2 separate regions of the Homo sapiens genome follow, and region 1 is linked to region 2. The links are contacts of gene promoters, found by promoter capture Hi-C in human tissues and cell types (Jung and others, 2019). All regions are on one chromosome and are shown on one strand. The core of a region is centred on a gene start or on the middle of the fragment in contact, and the rest is flanking DNA. Distances in the headings are between cores, read along the strand shown. Region 1 overlaps EPHA3 (EPH receptor A3). Region 2 holds the start of EPHA3 (EPH receptor A3).

Evidence for each region. Contacts are between HindIII fragments. The study calls those that stand out against the background at their distance.
Region 1: a fragment that was not itself captured here is called in contact with the fragment with the promoter of EPHA3 in region 2 in 3 of the 25 tissues and cell types used here (dorsolateral prefrontal cortex, hippocampus and mesenchymal stem cells).

The regions. Positions count from the first base shown.
Region 1 is chr3:89,164,143-89,168,856 of GRCh38, reverse strand. The region is part of intron 2 of EPHA3 (EPH receptor A3); the gene reads right to left. Among named protein-coding and RNA genes, the nearest start is that of EPHA3, 59 kb to the right of the region's middle. RefSeq lists an enhancer at 2,592-3,452. The HindIII fragment of the contact is 6,689 bases long and covers 1-4,714 here.
Region 2 is chr3:89,106,007-89,110,200 of GRCh38, reverse strand. EPHA3 (EPH receptor A3) reads right to left here and starts at 2,580. Exons shown (of 17, transcript NM_005233.6): 1 at 2,365-2,580. The coding sequence starts at 2,452. RefSeq lists an enhancer at 2,599-2,738. The HindIII fragment of the contact is 4,313 bases long and covers 1,015-4,194 here.

The DNA of each region.
Region 1 (4,714 bases), core at 366-2,865, 60 kb before region 2:
AATTTTTAAATTTCAATACATTTGCATATTTTAATCATTGAAAATTATTTTCTATACTAACATATGTAAAGGGAAGGTTTTGTTTCCTAGCAATAGGAACTCAACAGGTAGGCAAATATGCATTTTGTAATATTTAGAAAAAATTACTAATTATCATATGAAAAATTTAAAGCTTCTCTATTTCAAGAAGCATTGTGTTTAATTATCTGTATTATTTTTCTTAAATATAGTTTTGATATAATATACTAAACTCTAATTTAGTCATGAAATTAAAATTGAAAGGAAGTCTCTTAATTACCATGAAGTTATTTTTAGAATATCATAGTTTAAACTCTTAACATTAAACATGTAAAAATTTGGTATAAATAAACATCAATGCTGTTTTTAAATTTTTTTTGGTTTGTTTTTAATCACAGCCTCATTAATGATTGAGGACATTAGAGAATGACTTATGAAACACCCTATAAAAAATCACAAAAAATAACATAAACTTTCCACTTTCAGAGATCTAATAACAAAATACCACAGTTGTCAAAGTTATCTGCTTCCTATCAAGATCTATGTTTGGCACAAGAAGTATTCAATTCATTCATCATTGTCAATGCACTAGTACACTAATTATTTCAAATTGTTTCCTCAGCCAGAGGTCTAGGACAAATCAGGCAAGCCAAAAATAGCAGTTATGAATAATTATGCATAATTTACCTCAAGGCCTGGGCCAGTCTGCTATTAAAACTTTTACTTGCCACACTGTGATCTGTGTTAATTGCAAACTTTAAAATTATTTCAAGGTTGTCTTTTTATCCAGTGTCAACTTCAAACCTTTGTCTTAGTGACTTTTAGGTACTTTGCACTCTTCAAATAAAATGCTAATCATAATTTTGTTTAAAAATATATGTACATATATGTATGTATATTTGTGTGTGTGTATATATGTGTATATAATAAATAATAGAAATCAGTGAAGAAAGTGTTGTTCCCACCTTTTGCAATTCTCAAATATGTAGACACAGTATAAACATGAGAGTTTAGGAGTCAAAGTATAGTAATGACCTAGCTGTGGGAATTCTATCTTGCTCCAGTTGAAAAGAGAATAACAGGTTTTAGCAATGTGCAAATATTTCTCCAGTATCAAGTTAGTCCTCAGATACTCCCTATAATTTCTAAAGGAAGGAACCCTTGAAATTCTGCTGCTCCTCAGAAAGTTCAGTGTATTCAACTTTGACTTTCATTTAAGACAAAAACAGAGACAACTACCTTAAATTCACAGATGTCAGGATTTCTAATAAGCACAAACTTCAAACTATGGAGTTAGTATAACACACAATTGAAGATGATGCATTTTAGCTTCTATTTCTTTTTTGTAATGTTATTTCTCCCCACATAGGGGAGAGAAATAGCTTTTCTCCCTACTTCATTTTCTCATTTCTCCCCCTACCCCTACCCATGCTAAATCTTGTAGTTATGCTTTATCTTCTTATTGAAAGAATAGAAAATATTAAAGAGAATATAAATGTGATATTTTAAATTATATGTCCTTTGAATTTCCAAGTATATGTATTTTATATTTGAAAAAATGTAAACAGAGTGAATGTTATGTACTTTTATCACAAAATAAAAACTCTGTGATGTAATGCATCTATTAGCTAGTTAACTGTTTCACAATGTATATATGCTTCAAAACATTATGTTGTACATGATAAAAATATACAATACTATCTGTCCATTAAAACAAATTAGTTTTCATCATTTTTTTTCCAGGTCATTGACTTTTAGACCATGAGGATATGTATCACTAAACTGTCATTTTCCTGAGTTATTTTCTTTGTACGAAACAAAGGATGCTCCATTTCACCTCAGACACATTTTGAGGAGAAATGGGGCAATTTGCAGGAATGTGTTTTCTGCCTGTGACTTGTCAGATAAAGACCCCACTCAACCCCTTCTTAAATAATACATCATACTTGCTGGGTTGCTGTGCTTGTGTTTTTGTGCTGTTTGTTAACTGATGCTTTCAAAGAATTATCCATTCAAAAGCACCCCCTTAATATTGTCAGGTCAATTTAATAAAAGGGTGCATTTTGTTTAGGTTCTCCCTAGACCTCATTCTAAAATATTCTGAGAGTACGACATTTCTGATATGTCACTGTGTTGGAAACTAATTATATGCAAATAATTCCAAGAAGCAAAAGAAAAAAGGAGAGCAAATCAGAGGAAGCAGGTGAATTTGGGAGAGAAAGGGAGAAATGCTAAGGATAGAAGATAATTGATTTGTCTTCATTGTTTCAAAGAACTGTTTTTATGGTTGGTGTTGTTTTTATACGTTTGAATGAAATAGAATCTTGTAACATGGTTATCAGAGTAAAAAATCAGAAAAAAACAATTATTATAATTTAAAGACTTTATATCATTTTCAAAAGTTACAGGCATCCAATAACTACCCTTCCTCTCCATGTGTTTTAGTTATTTCAAGCAAAAATGTGTAGAGTGAGTGCTTCTGTTCAAAAGATAGTATATGTGCTGGGCATATTTTGGTCTTGCCCACAGAAACCTCATAATTTAGTGTACAATTTAAAAAGCTGAACAACTACCATAATAAATAATTACAAATTTTGATAAATTATATGAAGAAGAAGATAAACGAAGAATGAGAAGATGAAGGTGGTTCTTAAACCTACTTTAGACGGTGGAACAGGGAAAACTACCCGGACGTTTAGGCTGAGAACCAGACCTGAAGGGTGCTAAGACAGAGATCTCATGCAGTGAAGAGCCGGGAATCTGGAGTTAGATCACCGGGGTTTTAATCCTGCCACTCATTTGCTATTAATGAGCATTTGAGCAAATTACTTAACCTCTCTGGCTTTAGTTTCATCATCTGTAAAACAAAGATGATGATAGCATCTAAAACAAACCATAGGGTGAACGGCGCTTGAAGAGCCAGGGAAAAGTGTTCTGGGAAAATGAAAACACAGGAACAAAAGCCCTGAATGGGTATTTGGTGTTTCTGAGGAGCTGATTGTTGGCCAGTGTAGCCACAGCATGACCAAGTTCCAGAACGGCAGGGGCCTTTATCATTCAAGGCCTGAACAGCCTTGGAAAGGAGTCAGGATTTTGTTGCACAAAAGCTGATGTCTTCTTTTATTTCAGAAGATGAGTATGTAAAGATGCAAGATATTTGGATCAAGGATTCAAAAGGAGAATACAAAAGTAACACATTTTTTTGAAGGTAATAACATTAAAAATTAAGCAGAGAATTAACATAAGACTTGCATTTTTGAATGGATCATTTTGACTACAATATGGAGATGGAAAGAGGAAAGGCACAGAAGAGCACAGAAGTTTTTAATCCATGCATTAGAACAGTTAAGAGATGGTCTGTTCTATGGTGATAGCATTGGGGATGGAATGATTGAACCAATTTGAAATATATTTGCATTGCATTGCATTTATTAAAAATAATTATTACGAAAAGTATAATTTCTTTCAAGAATGTTTTATATACAGATAATATATGTTGGGTGGATTACATACTATGACATTTCGTTTTAATTCTTAGGAAGATCTGCTTTTGAGGATTAGTTAAGCATTGGCAATTTGTCTTATTTTAAGTGAAAGTTCTTTGTGTTCTCATTCAGCTTTCCCAGAGTTTCAATTGTAGCTACAAAAGAAATGAGGTTGAATTTTCCCATGGATCCCAGTGGGATTGTCTAGAATGTTGTTGCATTAGAATCACTTACAAAATGTCTCCTGTATTAATCTGTTTTATGTTCCTAATCCCTCACTGATTAAAATCAGAGGTGACAGAAAGACTCTAAGAAGGACCTGCAATCTTTAAAAGCCAAATAAGAAACAGTTTCTGAAGTATAAGGATATGAAAACCCTGACTCAGCAATGCTGCATTGAAAGATTTTTGTTTGTTTGTTTGAGTAGTACTACAAGTTGTCTCTGTGTAGTTGTGTAAATACACCTCCATTTTAAATGTAGTATTATCAGATAATTTCATTTATTAAACACTCTCTTCTAGTCCCTGAGATATACTGTGACTATTCTGCAGGGTGTTCTGGGGCATTATCCTACCAGCACACATTCTATTAACACTAATTGTATGCTCTCTAGAGAGTAAATGGGCAGAAAAGCATATACTTTCATTGAATAATCTGGAGATCCTTTCCTTGGCCTACTTAATCTTTTTTCTCCATAAAAGAAAAGGATCATGAAGGCATCTAGAATTTTGTGCTGGAAGATTTCTAGTAAGTTCAGAGGAAGACAGAAAAACTAGTGGGATTTACCCTACAGCAAGTCTGGGTGGAAGCAGATCCAAAGGGCAAGAGAAGCTGTGAATGGGAAAATTCAGATGTCAGGTGTGACACAGGTCTGAAAAATGTCTTCCAAGAAAGATTTCCAGTTAATCCCAGCAATAGCATACACTCTGCAAAGGTTTGTTGGATTTTTTAGGGGGGCGTGTCTAGGCCAAGCTTGTTCAACCCACAGCCAGTGGGCCGCATGCGGCCCAGGATGGCTTTGAATGTGGCTCAACACAAATCCGTACATTTTCTTAAAACATTATAAGTTTTTTGGTGATTATTTTTTAAGCTCATTAGCTATTGTTAGTGTCAGTGTATTTTATATGTGGCGCAAAGACAATTATTCTTCTTCTAATTTGACCCAGGGGAGACAAAAGATTGGACATTCCTTGTCTAGGCTACCTGGTAGA
Region 2 (4,194 bases), core at 1,331-3,830:
TTTCAATCATAATATTTTAAATACAGTCTAGTATTTCATATTTCAAAATTAAAAAATTATATCAGAAAACTACATTAATACCATTTTTAAATCACCACTCCTCTCATATATACATTTTCAAAAGAATTGCTTTCTATTTAAATTACATTGTTAGAAAAATTGCACGGAAATCTTGGCACATACTTGGCATTTTCACTTTTCATGTTATTCAACTCAACTGAGAGCCCAGCTATGGATAATATTTAAAATCTCACTCAAGTATTACCTAAGTTAAATCATCTTAAATTTGTTTTAAAGCTTCCCTTCACAATCACAGGAAGGAAAAGAGACACTACCCATAGGACACAATCTGGAAGGAATAATCCCATGAATGATGGATAAACTTTCATCCAAGCAAATTAAATGCAATTATGTCAGCTTTCTGAATATATTTACCTTTCTATATCCATATGGTTAATGTGTACCTGTCTGTATAATTATATACATTATATCCCCAAACATACATGAGGTGAGGCTTAAAAGCAATTTGTATTTGATTAACTCTGTTTCATTAAATTAATACTGATTAATTTTACATAGGTGTGAAATAGTTTGGTGTCTTTTTTTTTCTCTTGCAGTTTACTTAAAGGTTGTTTTCCACAAAAATACTGACTAACAGCTACATTCTTGTGCATAATTAATTCAGTAATATCCATATCTACATAGTTCATAACCATTCTATCTGGAAAATATAATTTATCATGACAATGTGGGAATTTTAATACTATTTTTCTAGTTATTGTCAATATTTTAATATCTGCAAAGAACAAAAATTTTTAAAACATTAAGTTTAATTTATTGATATGTTACCTATTATACATGTTACCCGTTATACAAATGAATACTCTTACCTTTCATTCAGGAAGAATGATTGACTCTTACTTTCAAATAAACATTTTAATTTGGTTTGTAAAATAAAAAGTCATTTGTGGGTAAGATAATTTTCTTGATCCTTATATTTTAGAATTTTCATTTTCTTATTTAGAAAAAAGATTCAGAACATTTAATGAAAACTGCCAAATTGATAAAGGCAGTCAGTAAGGAAGGAGATAAATTACTGCTCTATTAGCAGTGAAAGTAGGTCACCGAGTATCAGGCAGTTATTACATTTAATAAAAAACTTTCTAAGTATTTTGTTTTTACTCGTGTTTTTAAAATTAAGGTACATATACAACAGTATTGGCTTGACAATATATTTTCTAAGGAGTGATGTATATAACATGATGTTTGCACATCAGTTGCTCGGTATTGTTAACTTGCAAAATAAATTGCTAAATGTTACTGTTATAAGTTCAAAATCACTAAGAGGAAATTAATGTTGTAAGTGTGGCTTTACACTAATCAATTATTTAGAGAAGTTTGTTTTACGAGTTAGTGACTGTATTCACAAGAATAGATCACAAAAGGAATACAGGAGAAAGAAAATGTATGTATTAAGTACACAATCTTATAGAACACATTGGTGTCCTTAACATTAGGTTTGCACTTTAACCCACTGAAAAGGAATTAATGCTCATTACAAGGATAATAAATAACACAACATCAAGGAAATGCCATTTGCTGCATATGAACATTCTCTCTTAATCTACTATTCAGTTATTTACTATATCTTCCCAGGAGCTATCCACTATTCATTAAATACATTCTCCTATTTGTATATAAGCCTTTAAACAAAGAGAATCCAACCTAAGCTTATTGTAATTCTTGCAAATATTACTTACGTTAATGTGGCATATGCTGCTCTTTAGAACCTGTACCATAGAGCAAACCATTGCCTGGCGGGATACACACAACTTCAACACAGCCCTTGCACCATAAACACGCACCTCCGCTTCGACAAACTCTGATTTCCCTTTAGTCCATTCATAAATGCCATGATCCCAAGTAGGAACAACCTGTCATTACCTTTAAACATACTAAAGAGTCTAGAGAGGAAGGCTGAATTTTCTTTCAAACTTCTCGGAGTACCACATGGTCATAATTAGAAAATAAAATACTGCCTTGGCTATTTGGCAATTAACATAACTGGGTTGCAACGCTGGAGGATTTTCTTTCTTTCTTTCTGCTCAAATTGGCAAACAAGGTAATTGCTCGAAATGGTGTCAGATTAAAAACACATTTTCAAAGTTTAGACCATCTAAAATTATCTCCTGAAGTGTTTTAGAAGACAGTTGGAAAAAAAAAAGGCACATCTTTCCTTCACTCTCAGAGCAAACTGCTCTATTCGGAGGCACCTTCCCGACGTGCAAGGCTTCGGTGAGAACGTGCTTTGAAGAGCGTGAGCCCCGCGGGGCAGAGCTCCGTGCGTCGCGGTACCTGGCTTACCTTCATTGGAAGGCTGCGGAATCAGTTCCCCGAAGCTGTCGAGAACAGAGCAGCTGAGAAGGAGGAGGATGGAGAGCTGACAATCCATGTTGCTGGTGCAGAGGGCAGTGAGAGGAGCATATCTCCATGAAGCATGCCACTGATGTGAGGGGGAGCGCTCTGATTGCTGGAGAAGTTACCATGCTCCGCTCGCAGGCTGATGTCAAGTTTGACACTGGAGATAAGGAGGAGTCTGGCTGCCTTTCCGCGAACCCCGCTCGGGGACTTCCCTGGGTCCTAGTGCCGTCTTCAGCGTGCGCTGAAGCAGAGCGGGATGGCACGCAGCTGGCTCTGCAGCCCAGAGCTGCTCGGGAAGGAGACCGGGTGGGAGTGGGGGCGTCGCCCATGGGACAGGAAACACAGAAGATGTGATGAGGCCGCGGTGCTGAGAAAAATGCTCCCTCTTTTGTGTTGCATGAAAAGTAGCTGTTTTATTGTTTGCTATCCATGCTCTGTTGCTTAATTCACCGAAGAAATCACAGCCTTGATAGGAGTATCATATGGCAATGTGAGTGCAAAAGGAACTGAAATGCGAGAGAAACGTGTGTTTTGAAAGAATAGCAGTCTTTCGTTAAAAAGTCAATCATGTTTGTATAATTGAAAAAAATGATTATAGTTATTCCTTTACTGTGTTCAATGTGATCATAACTCTCCATGAGTTCTTTGTGATTCAGAAAGACACTAATACACAGCCTGAATCAGAGGGTCTCTGCATTTCCACACCCAATGGTATCGTGGCTTTTTACTAGATCTGGCACAGTGATTTTCCGCGCACATAGAGCATACTTTGTTTTTTTTCAAACAGGGAAGTTGACCTTCATCATCTTACGGAAGGGAGCAAGTCTAACCCCAGCCGGAGGTCTACATTCTTTTCTCGTTCTGTGTTGTAAAAGTAATACAGATCAAACCTAAATTTCTTAATAATACATATCCCCCTCCCTCACCATCTCACATTAGGATCTCTGGGTTCTGCAAGAGAAACAATGCATAATTCACAGCTCCTCCATTCAACTTTCAACCACTGATAGTCTAATAATATTGGGGTATTCTTATTCTTTAACATTCCAAATCCAAAAGCTAAATAATAATGTCCTCGTACTTTCTCACTTATTTTACACCATGACTATCAATGGTCTCTGTTATTTCCAATCCCATTGCTGAACAACCTATTGCAATCTAGTTCAGCCAAACAATTTTGTAATTTATATTTTAATAACCAGCATCACTTATCTTTAAAATATCTCCCAGAAAATGGTTACTCAGATATCCTTCCGCCCATCTATCTCTTCTTATACTAAAAAGAAAACAAGATTATTATATTCCTCTCACAACTTCAGAAAATAAAGGTATGTTGATAATCTTAAGATCAGTGATCAATTTTAGAGCTCTTGATAATGAAACTTAAATGAAAGTTTGAAAAGCCCTTGCTAATAATGTATTCAGTCCACAAACTCAATGTTTTTAGTTAGAGAACACAATTTTCACTTGAATTTAAGTTAATGGTGCCAGATAATAGTTTGATGACTGGGGTGGGGAATTGGGGTGGATAGAAGCAGCCAGGGGAAAAGAGAGATCCTTCTCACTTTTCTGTGTATGCCATGTTACTTTGTGTCTCTAACTTCTTTCCACATTGTGTCACCAGAGGCTGCGCAATCCTCAAGTGCCAAGTCTGTCAGAATTGAAAATAATAGCAGATACTGCCCAGAGAACTTAGACAGTGGTGACTCTGGTGTTTTTTCAAAGTTCCAGCACAACACTTACATTGTTCCAAAGTTAGATACACGTTTTCTG